2 separate regions of the Homo sapiens genome follow, and region 2 is linked to region 1. The links are contacts of gene promoters, found by promoter capture Hi-C in human tissues and cell types (Jung and others, 2019). All regions are on one chromosome and are shown on one strand. Each heading gives the region's core, a stretch centred on a gene start or on the middle of the fragment in contact. The rest is flanking DNA. Distances are from core to core; before and after follow the strand shown. Region 1 holds the start of YKT6 (YKT6 vesicular SNARE protein). Region 2 holds the start of PPIA (peptidylprolyl isomerase A).

What was found. Contacts are between HindIII fragments. The study calls those that stand out against the background at their distance.
Region 2: the fragment with the promoter of PPIA here is called in contact with the fragment with the promoter of YKT6 in region 1 in 1 of the 25 tissues and cell types used here (spleen).

The regions. Positions count from the first base shown.
Region 1 is chr7:44,198,377-44,202,648 of GRCh38, forward strand. YKT6 (YKT6 vesicular SNARE protein) reads left to right here and starts at 2,602. Exons shown (of 7, transcript NM_006555.4): 1 at 2,602-2,863. The coding sequence starts at 2,760. RefSeq lists a silencer at 2,709-2,778. The HindIII fragment of the contact is 4,070 bases long and covers 2,122-4,272 here.
Region 2 is chr7:44,794,813-44,799,056 of GRCh38, forward strand. It overlaps PPIA (peptidylprolyl isomerase A), which reads left to right and starts at 1,869. Exons shown (of 5, transcript NM_021130.5): 1 at 1,869-1,981. The coding sequence starts at 1,913. LOC105375259 (a long non-coding RNA gene) reads right to left here and starts at 1,718. Exons shown (of 2, transcript XR_007060300.1): 1 at 1,256-1,718; 2 at 304-612. RefSeq lists silencers at 1,410-1,609, 1,700-1,969, 1,990-2,339. The HindIII fragment of the contact is 11,905 bases long and covers 1-4,244 here.

The DNA of each region.
Region 1 (4,272 bases), core at 1,352-3,851:
AACAGTGTAAAAGTGTTCCTATTTCTCCACATCCTCTCCAGCACCTGTTGTTTCCTGACTTTTTAATGATCACCATTCTAACTGGTGTGAGATGGTATCTCATTGTGGTTTTGATTTGCATTTCTCTGATGGCCAGTGATGATGAGCATTTTTTCATGTGTTTTTTGGCTACATAAATGTCTTCTTTTGAGAAGTGTCTGTTCATATCCTTCGCCCATTTGTTGATGGGGTTGTTTGTTTTTTTCTTGTAAATTTGTTTGAGTTCATTGTAGATTCTGGATATTAGCCCTTTGTCAGATGAGTAGGTTGCAAAAATTTTCTCCCATTCTGTAGGTTGCCTGTTCACTCTGATGGTAGTTTCTTTTGCTGTGCAGAAGCTCTTTAGTTTAATTAGATCCCATTTGTCAATTTTGGCTTTTGTTGCCATTGCTTTTGGTGTTTTAGACATGAAGTCCTTGCCCATGCCTATGTCCTGAATGGTATTGCCTAGGTTTTCTTCTAGGGTTTTTATGGTTTTAGGTCTAACATGTAAGTCTTTAATCCATCTTGAATTAATTTTTGTATAAGGTGTAAGGAAGGGATCCAGTTTCAGCTTTCTACATATGGCTAGCCAGTTTTCCCAGCACCATTTATTAAATAGGGAATCCTTTCCCCATTGCTTGTTTTTGTCAGGTTTGTCAAAGATCAGATGCTTGTAGATATGCGGCATTATTTCTGAGGGCTCTGTTCTGTTCCATTGCTCTATATCTCTGTTTTGGTACCAGTAGCATGCTGTTTTGGTTACTGTAGCCTTGTAGTATAGTTAGAAGTCAGGTAGTGTGATGCCTCCAGCTTTGTTCTTTTGGCTTAGGATTGACTTGGCAATGCGGGCTCTTTTTTGGTTCCATATGAACTTTAGTTTTTTCCAATTCTGTGAAGAAAGTCATTGGTAGCTTGATAGGGATGGCATTGAATCTATAAATTACCTTGGGCAGTATGGCCATTTTCACGATACTGATTCTTCCTACCCATGAGCATGGAATGTTCTTCCATTTGTTTGTATCCTCTTTTATTTCATTGAGCAGTCGTTTGTAGTTCTCCTTGAAGAGGTCCTTCACATCCCTTGTAAGTTGGATTCCTAGGTATTTTATTCTCTTTGAAGCAATTGTGAATGGGAGTTCACTCATGATTTGGCTCTCTGTCTGTTATTGGTGTATAAGACTGCTTGTGATTTTTGCACATTGATTTTGTATCCTGAGACTTTGCTGAAGTTGCTTATCAGCTTAAGGAGATTTTGGGCTGAGACGATGGGGTTTTCTAGATATACAATCATGTCATCTGCAAACAGGGACAATTTGACTTCCTCTTTTCTTAATTGAATACCCTTTATTTCCTTCTCCTACCTGATTGCCCTGGCCAGAACTTCCAACACTATGTTGAAAAGGAGTGGTGAGAGAGGGCATCCCAGTCTTGTGCCAGTTTTCAAAGGGAATGCTTCCAGTTTTTGTCCATTCAGTATGATATTGGCTGTGGGTTTGTCATAGATAGCTCTTATTATTTTGAGATACGTCCCATCAATACCTAATTTATTGAGAGTTTTTAGCATGAGGGTTGTTGAATTTTGTCAAAGGCCTTTTCTGCATCTATTGAGATAATCATGTGGTTTTTGTCTTTGGTTCTGTTTATATGCTGGATTACGTTTACTGATTTTCGTATGTTGAACCAGCCTTGCATCCCAGGGATGAAGCCCACTTGATCATGGTGGATAAGCTTTTTGATGTGTTGCTGGATTCGGTTTGCCAGTATTTTACTGAGGATTTTTGCTTCAATGTTCATCAAGGATATTGGTCTAAAATTCTTTTTTTGTTGTGTCTCTCTCTGCCACCCTTTGGTATCAGGATGATGCTGGCCTCATAAAATGAGTTAGGGAGGATTCTCTCTTTTTCTTTTGATTGGAATAGTTTCAGAAGGAATGGTACAAGCTCCTCCTAAAATGTGGCACATATACACCATGGAATACTATGCAGCCATAAAAAATGATGAGTTCATGTCCTTTGTAGGGACATGGATGAAGCTGGAAACCATCATTCTCAGCAAACTATTGCAAGGACAAAAAACCAAACACCGCATGTTCTCACTCATAGGTGGGAATTGAACAATAAGAACACATGGACACAGGAAGGCGAACATCACACACCGGGGACTGTTGTGGGGTGGGGGGAGGGGGGAGGGATAGCATTAGGAGATATACTTAATGCTAAATGACGAGTTAATGGGTGCAGCACACCAACATGGCACATGTATACATATGTAACAAACCTGCACGTTGTGCACATGTACCCTAAAACTTAAAGTATAATAATAAAAAAAATGCTTACTTTAAAAAAAGAAAGAAAAGAAAAAAAAAAAAAAGAAGGGTTCAGGCCGCTGTGGGAGGCCCAGCACCACCCAGCACAAGACAGTACGGTATCCCGCCGCGCGCCCGACTCCACCTGGCGAGCAGGGAGGGGCCAAGCTTACGCGAGGCGTGGCATCCCGCCCCTCGCTGCATTGTACTTCCGGGCTCACATTTCTGCATCCGGAGTATGAGAACCCTCAACCAGGCTGACCGGATCCGGAAGTGGATTGCGAGCCAGGAGGAGGAAGCCGGCGGTGGCCCCGTCAGCAGCCGGCTGCTGAGAGGCCGGTAGGCGGCGGCGGTCCCGAGGGGCGGCGGCCGCGCTGCTCCCTGAGAACGGGTCCCGCAGCTGGGCAGGCGGGCGGCCTGAGGGCGCGGAGCCATGAAGCTGTACAGCCTCAGCGTCCTCTACAAAGGCGAGGCCAAGGTGGTGCTGCTCAAAGCCGCATACGATGTGTCTTCCTTCAGCTTTTTCCAGAGATCCAGGTGAGCGGCACAGGCTGGTGGGCCGTGGCGGTCGGGCGGAGAGGACTGGGGTGGGGGTCCGAGTCGGAGTGGGCCTGGGGTCGGCGGAGGGATGAGGGGAGGGTGGAGGAGGCCAAGGGTAGGGGCAGGGCGGGGTGGCCGAGTGCCCGGGGTCTGAGAAGGCTGGTGTCCGAGTCAGAGGCGGGGCGGGGTGGGGAGGGCCCGGGGTCTGCTGTCCGGGCTTGGTCTCCTATAATGGAATCTGGCCGTGGACTCTACCTTTGAGGAACCAACATTAGCTCTTTAAGAGCTTATACCATTCTAGAATATAGTTCTCTACTCAGTGTTTTTCAAATTTCTGTCGTGTAAAAATTTTAAGGAGACTGTGAAGTAGTGCAGATTTCCAAGCTTCATGCCAAGATGTTCTGAATTAGTAGATTGAGGCCTCGGTATTTATATTTTAGACCAACACTTCCCACCCAGTGATTCTGACTCTGGGAGCTTGGGTGCCGCATCTTGAGAGCCATATTTTGATTTTCTTGCGGGGCTTCCCAACAATTCTGTATGAGAGATAGTGATATACTTTTTTTTGTTTGTTTTTAATGGGTGAAGTCACTGAGGTACCAAGAGGTTATATCACAACCAGCTAGAACTGAAAGCCAGGTTTAACGCTTTTTAGTTGGACACTAGTGGTACAAAAGGATTCCACACGGAAGATGCAAATGAAGCATGGGATCTGTAGGGCTTACAGGCTTTTACTTGTTTCTGGGGCGCTTTAATTGCTGGAACGTGTTAGAAGTAACACAGACACTTCCAGACCATTCGTGGGAGGGATTGGGGTGACTCAGGCACGAAAGAAGGAGGACCCTACATGGTCGGTATCTATGGTCATCTTGTCTCAAAATCTGATGGAATCTGCCGTTTGGATTCTGTTTTCCCTGCTTCAGTGCAGCTGGTTCTTGATGAGAGTTCTTTGCCAAGGACTTGCTGGATGTAAAAAAAAAAAAATGTTATTTTGTTGAAACTTTCTGCTTCTTTGAGTTCTTTTAAAAAAATATTTTTAATTGTGGTAAAATGGTACACAAAATTTATCTTCACTATCTTTAAGCGTGTAGTGAGTGCATTGATATGAAATAGATTGATAGTGTTGTGCAGCCATCACTGTCAATCGTCTCCAGAACTCCTTTTTATCAAATTCGTGTCTATTAAACACATTCCCTTCTCCCCCAGCCCATGGCAACTGCCATTCTAATTTGTCTCTGTGATTTTGACTTTTCTGGCGACCTTAGATAAATGGAATCATATAGTTTTTGTGTGTCTGGCTTATTTCATGTAGCATAATGTCCTCAAGGCTCATGCATCTTGTTGCATATATCAGAATTTCTTTCCTTTTTAAGGCTGAATAATCCATTGTATTATTCACCACATTT
Region 2 (4,244 bases), core at 619-3,118, 600 kb after region 1:
GTGGCGAAACCCCATCTTTACAAAACACACACACACAAAATGAGCTGGGTGTGGGTGCATGCCTGTAGTCCCAGCTACTTGGGAGGCTAAGGTGGGACGCTTGCTCGAGCACGGGAAGGGGAGGTTGCAGTGAGCCGATAACACACCACTGCACTTCCAGCCTAGGTGAGAGTGAGACCTTGTCTCAAAAAAACAAAAAGAAACATTAAATAATATCCTTAATATTGCAACTTAAGTGACAGCCCAGGATATATGAATTCCCTTGTAAGGTTTTCTTAACAAAACACCAGTCACATAAGTGCATTTTATTTTATATTTTTGTTTATTTATTTGAGACGGAGTCTCTGTCTCTCAGGCTGGAGTGCAGTGGCGCCATCTCTGCTCGCTGCAACCTCCACCTCCTGGGTTCCAGCGATTCTCCTGCCTCAGCCTCCCGAGGGGGTAGCTGGGACTACAGGTGCGCACCACCATGCCCAGCTAATTTTGTATTTTTCGTAGAGATGGGGTTTCACCATGTTGTCCAGGCTGGTCTTGAACTCCTGACCTCAGGTGATCCTCCCGCCTCGGCCTCCCAAAGTGCTGGAATTACAGGCGTGATCCACCGCACCCGGCCTATTTTTTGAGAGAGGGTCACACTCTGTCGTCCCGGCTGGAATGCAGTGATGCGATCACCGCCCACTACAGCCTCGACCTCCGGGCTCAAGCAATCCTCCCCGCCCAGCCTCCTGAGTAGCGAGCGCCTCGACGCCCAGCTAATTTTTATTTTTATTTATTTTTTTGTAGAGACGGCGTCTCTCTAAGATGCCCAGGCTGGTGGCCGGTGTCGAACTCCTAAGATGAAGCGATCCTCCCCGGCCTTGGCCTCCGCGCCTCCTAAAGCGCCAGGTATGAGCCACCGCGCCTGGCCTACAAGTGCATTTTAATTAAAGTATTATTAATGTCTTTGCCTGAAGAAATTCGCTTTTAAATTGTGACTTATCTTTCACCCAAAAATCAAAGCACAATTCAGCCCCGAGGCGGGGGCGGTAGGAGCTGGGCGGGGCGGGGGCAGGGAAAGACCAGGAGCAGAGATTCAAAAAGAGTAAGAGGGCAAAATGTGCATAATGCATCTTCACAGGTAAGAGCCTGGCCAGGCTCCTGTTTTAATGGCTTCCTCCTGAAGAAGATTCAAGCAGAGTGTAAGATATTTTCGGAAAGTAGAGCATTTTGAAAGCATTTCATAATCTCTCAAAACCGGAGACTGCTCCTGTCCCACCTCGTTAGAGAAAACAGCGATGCTCAAAGGCAACCTCCTTCCTGACATTGCCTGGTAGGACGCGACGTGGTGTTTGCCCGCGCGGAATGCGGACGCAAGGCTGCTCCTAGGTCTCGGGGACGCGCCATCCCCATTTCCGCTCGCGGAGGCGTAGGGTCCGGGCGCGGGACCCCAGTCGACCTTGACTGGCGGCGCGACCTTGAGGCCTGCGTTCGCCTCAGTTGCCCCCTCTGTGCAATGGGGAGACGCGCCTCATCGCTTGACAACGGCCGAAGAGCCGCCGCGCTTCCGTCTCCCGCGTGCGCGCGCCATGCTGCCCACCCCCGTTCCGCACTGACCCTCCCCCGTGCCCCGCGTCCCGTACTGCCGCCCCGCCCCGAGTCCCATGCCGCAGCCACCGCGACGGAGCCCGCAGGCGGGAACCTGCCTCCGCGCGTTAGCGCGCACGCGCGCCTCATGTGTCGTCCCCATCAGCGCCGGCTTCCGTCTATAGGCCAGATGCACTGTCACTCTGGCGAAGTCGCAGACCCGATTGGCCGGGACGGAGGCGCGAGACCGGGTTGCGGGCGGGGCCGAACGTGGTATAAAAGGGGCGGGAGGCCAGGCTCGTGCCGTTTTGCAGACGCCACCGCCGAGGAAAACCGTGTACTATTAGCCATGGTCAACCCCACCGTGTTCTTCGACATTGCCGTCGACGGCGAGCCCTTGGGCCGCGTCTCCTTTGAGGTCGGGCGGGCGGCGGCGTGCGGGAATGGGGCCCAGAAAGTGGGCCGGGGTCGGGGTGGGTGGTAGCGCCCCAAAGGCCCGGGCGCGGGGCGACCCTGCTTGAGGGGCGAGCGCGGGCGGGCTGCGGCGCCATTTCCTGACGAGGGGCCATTTTGGGAGGTCCGCGAGTCGCGGGGAGGAGGCCGGGACGGCGGCGGACAAAGGCAGGCGGGGCGGCTGCGAGGCCGTTGGGGGAGGGGGCCCGCGTCCGCCCGCCCGCCTCATGTGGCCGCGCCCTGTCCTGTCCGACGCACGTGCTCGGCGGCCGCGCTCAGGTCCGCGCCTTGAGAGTCGTTGGGCTCCGCCCTAGCTTGGCCTGGGCGCCGCAGACCGGAGCCAGAAGCACGCTCGCGGGGGCTTGCGACCGCCTTCCTGGGAAGCTGTCCCCTGGCAGGCATGGGTGCTTTACATCCTGAGCTGGGAAGCTGTTTGCTTGAGGGTTTTTCTCAAGGATCGAGGCGCGGTGTGAGCCCGTCCATGCTCGGTCCTGTAGATCCCGGGAGGCCATGTTATAAAAGGAGACTTGCTGGGATGTGACGGGTTGCCACTTGAAATATCTTCCATTTGGATAAAGTAGGAATATTTATACATGTGCCCCAAACGTCCCTCCGTGTCCCCCACCCCCAAGCGGAAATGTGAAAATGGGCCTTGCCTTTGCTGGTGCCCAAGGACCGCCTTCCACTGCAGTGACGGCGCTGGCGGGGGAGGCGCTCTTGAGCCCCTCCCGATTGTCCCTCTGCCTAGCAAGCAAGTTGCGACTGGCCACAAGGCAGGCCTCTTCCGACCAAGGTGGATTACCAGTGATTACCTAATTAGTTTTGAGAGCGTTAAATGAGTTCTTAAAGATCAGTTGTAATTATAGCATAGTATCTAAACTTGGCGCGTGTCTTCAAAGTTAAATATTGAGTACGATTCCGTTCCAGTTAACATGGATAGACCTTAGGGAGTAGCGAAATAGGATGTTAGTGGTTTTATTCCTTTAAATCACATCTCAAAAGGCCACCAATGGCTAGTTTGGGATCTTATTCCGAAAATAGATTGATCCTCATGCAGTCTTCGTGAGGACAGAGCGATTTCCTTGTTGCCTACCCTGTCCATAGTGCCTGGCACATAGGCACTGAAACACTGCATGTTAATCCACACCCCACCCCACCTATGAGTGTAGTCAAAGCTGGTAAGTGACAAGGGCTTTCGTGGAAACTTGGCCTGACCTAATGTTGGGCATCAGGTTACCCAAAGAGCTTCAGGGAAATGAGAAAGGACTTGCAGGTCTTGATGAGAATGGAGGGGTAACTGCCAATGAGGGCTTTGGCTTTAGCGAAAGTCTGAAAGGGAAGCCATAGGAACTTAAACGTACCGACTATAAAGCTCTGAGAAAAGCTGATGTTTTAGAAAGACCATACATTCTAGGTACAAATACCTAAAAACTAAAAAATAAGTACGTTGGCCAGGCGGGCGGATCACGAAGTCAGGAGATTGAGACCGTCCTGGCCAACATGGTGAAACCCCACCTCTATTAAAAATACAAAAATTAGCTGGGCGTGGTGGCGCTTGCCTGTAATCTCAGCTACTCTAGAGGCTGAGGCAGGAGAATCGCTTGAACCCCGGAGGCGGAGGCTGCAGTGAGCCGAGATCGTGCCACTGCACTCCAGCCTGGTGACAGTGAGACTCTTGTCTCAAAAAAAAAAAAGTACATTGCTATAAGAGAAGTGCACACGGATACTAGTAGTTAATTCAGTCACATCTGTGAAATAGCTTATAAAATGCTACTTTTAAACAAGCTGTTTTTATGAAAGGGCTTGTAAATGTTTATGGTATTTAAGCTACCTCTCTAGCCATAACGTATTATACATTCAAGAAAGGTTCAAAACCAGATATACTAGAAACCAATCTTTATTTTTTACCCCACTACTAGGTAAGGGGCCTGGATACCAAGAAGTGACTGCTCATCTAATCCATAAAGCTATGTTAACAGATTGGAGGTAGTAGCATTTTCATTACAAGTGACTAAAAGAACAGCTGTTTACCCCTGATCGTGCAGCAGTGCTTGCTGTTCCTTAGAATTTTGCCTTGTAAGTTCTAGCTCAAGTTGGGGGGTGGTGATAGACATTTAAGAAGCCATATATCTTTTCAGAAGTAGGTGTGATGTACTAAAAGTTTGAGACACTTTCTAGAAGTCTCACTATTTAAGTTATGACTAGTATTGGATTTTTGGCATGTCTTT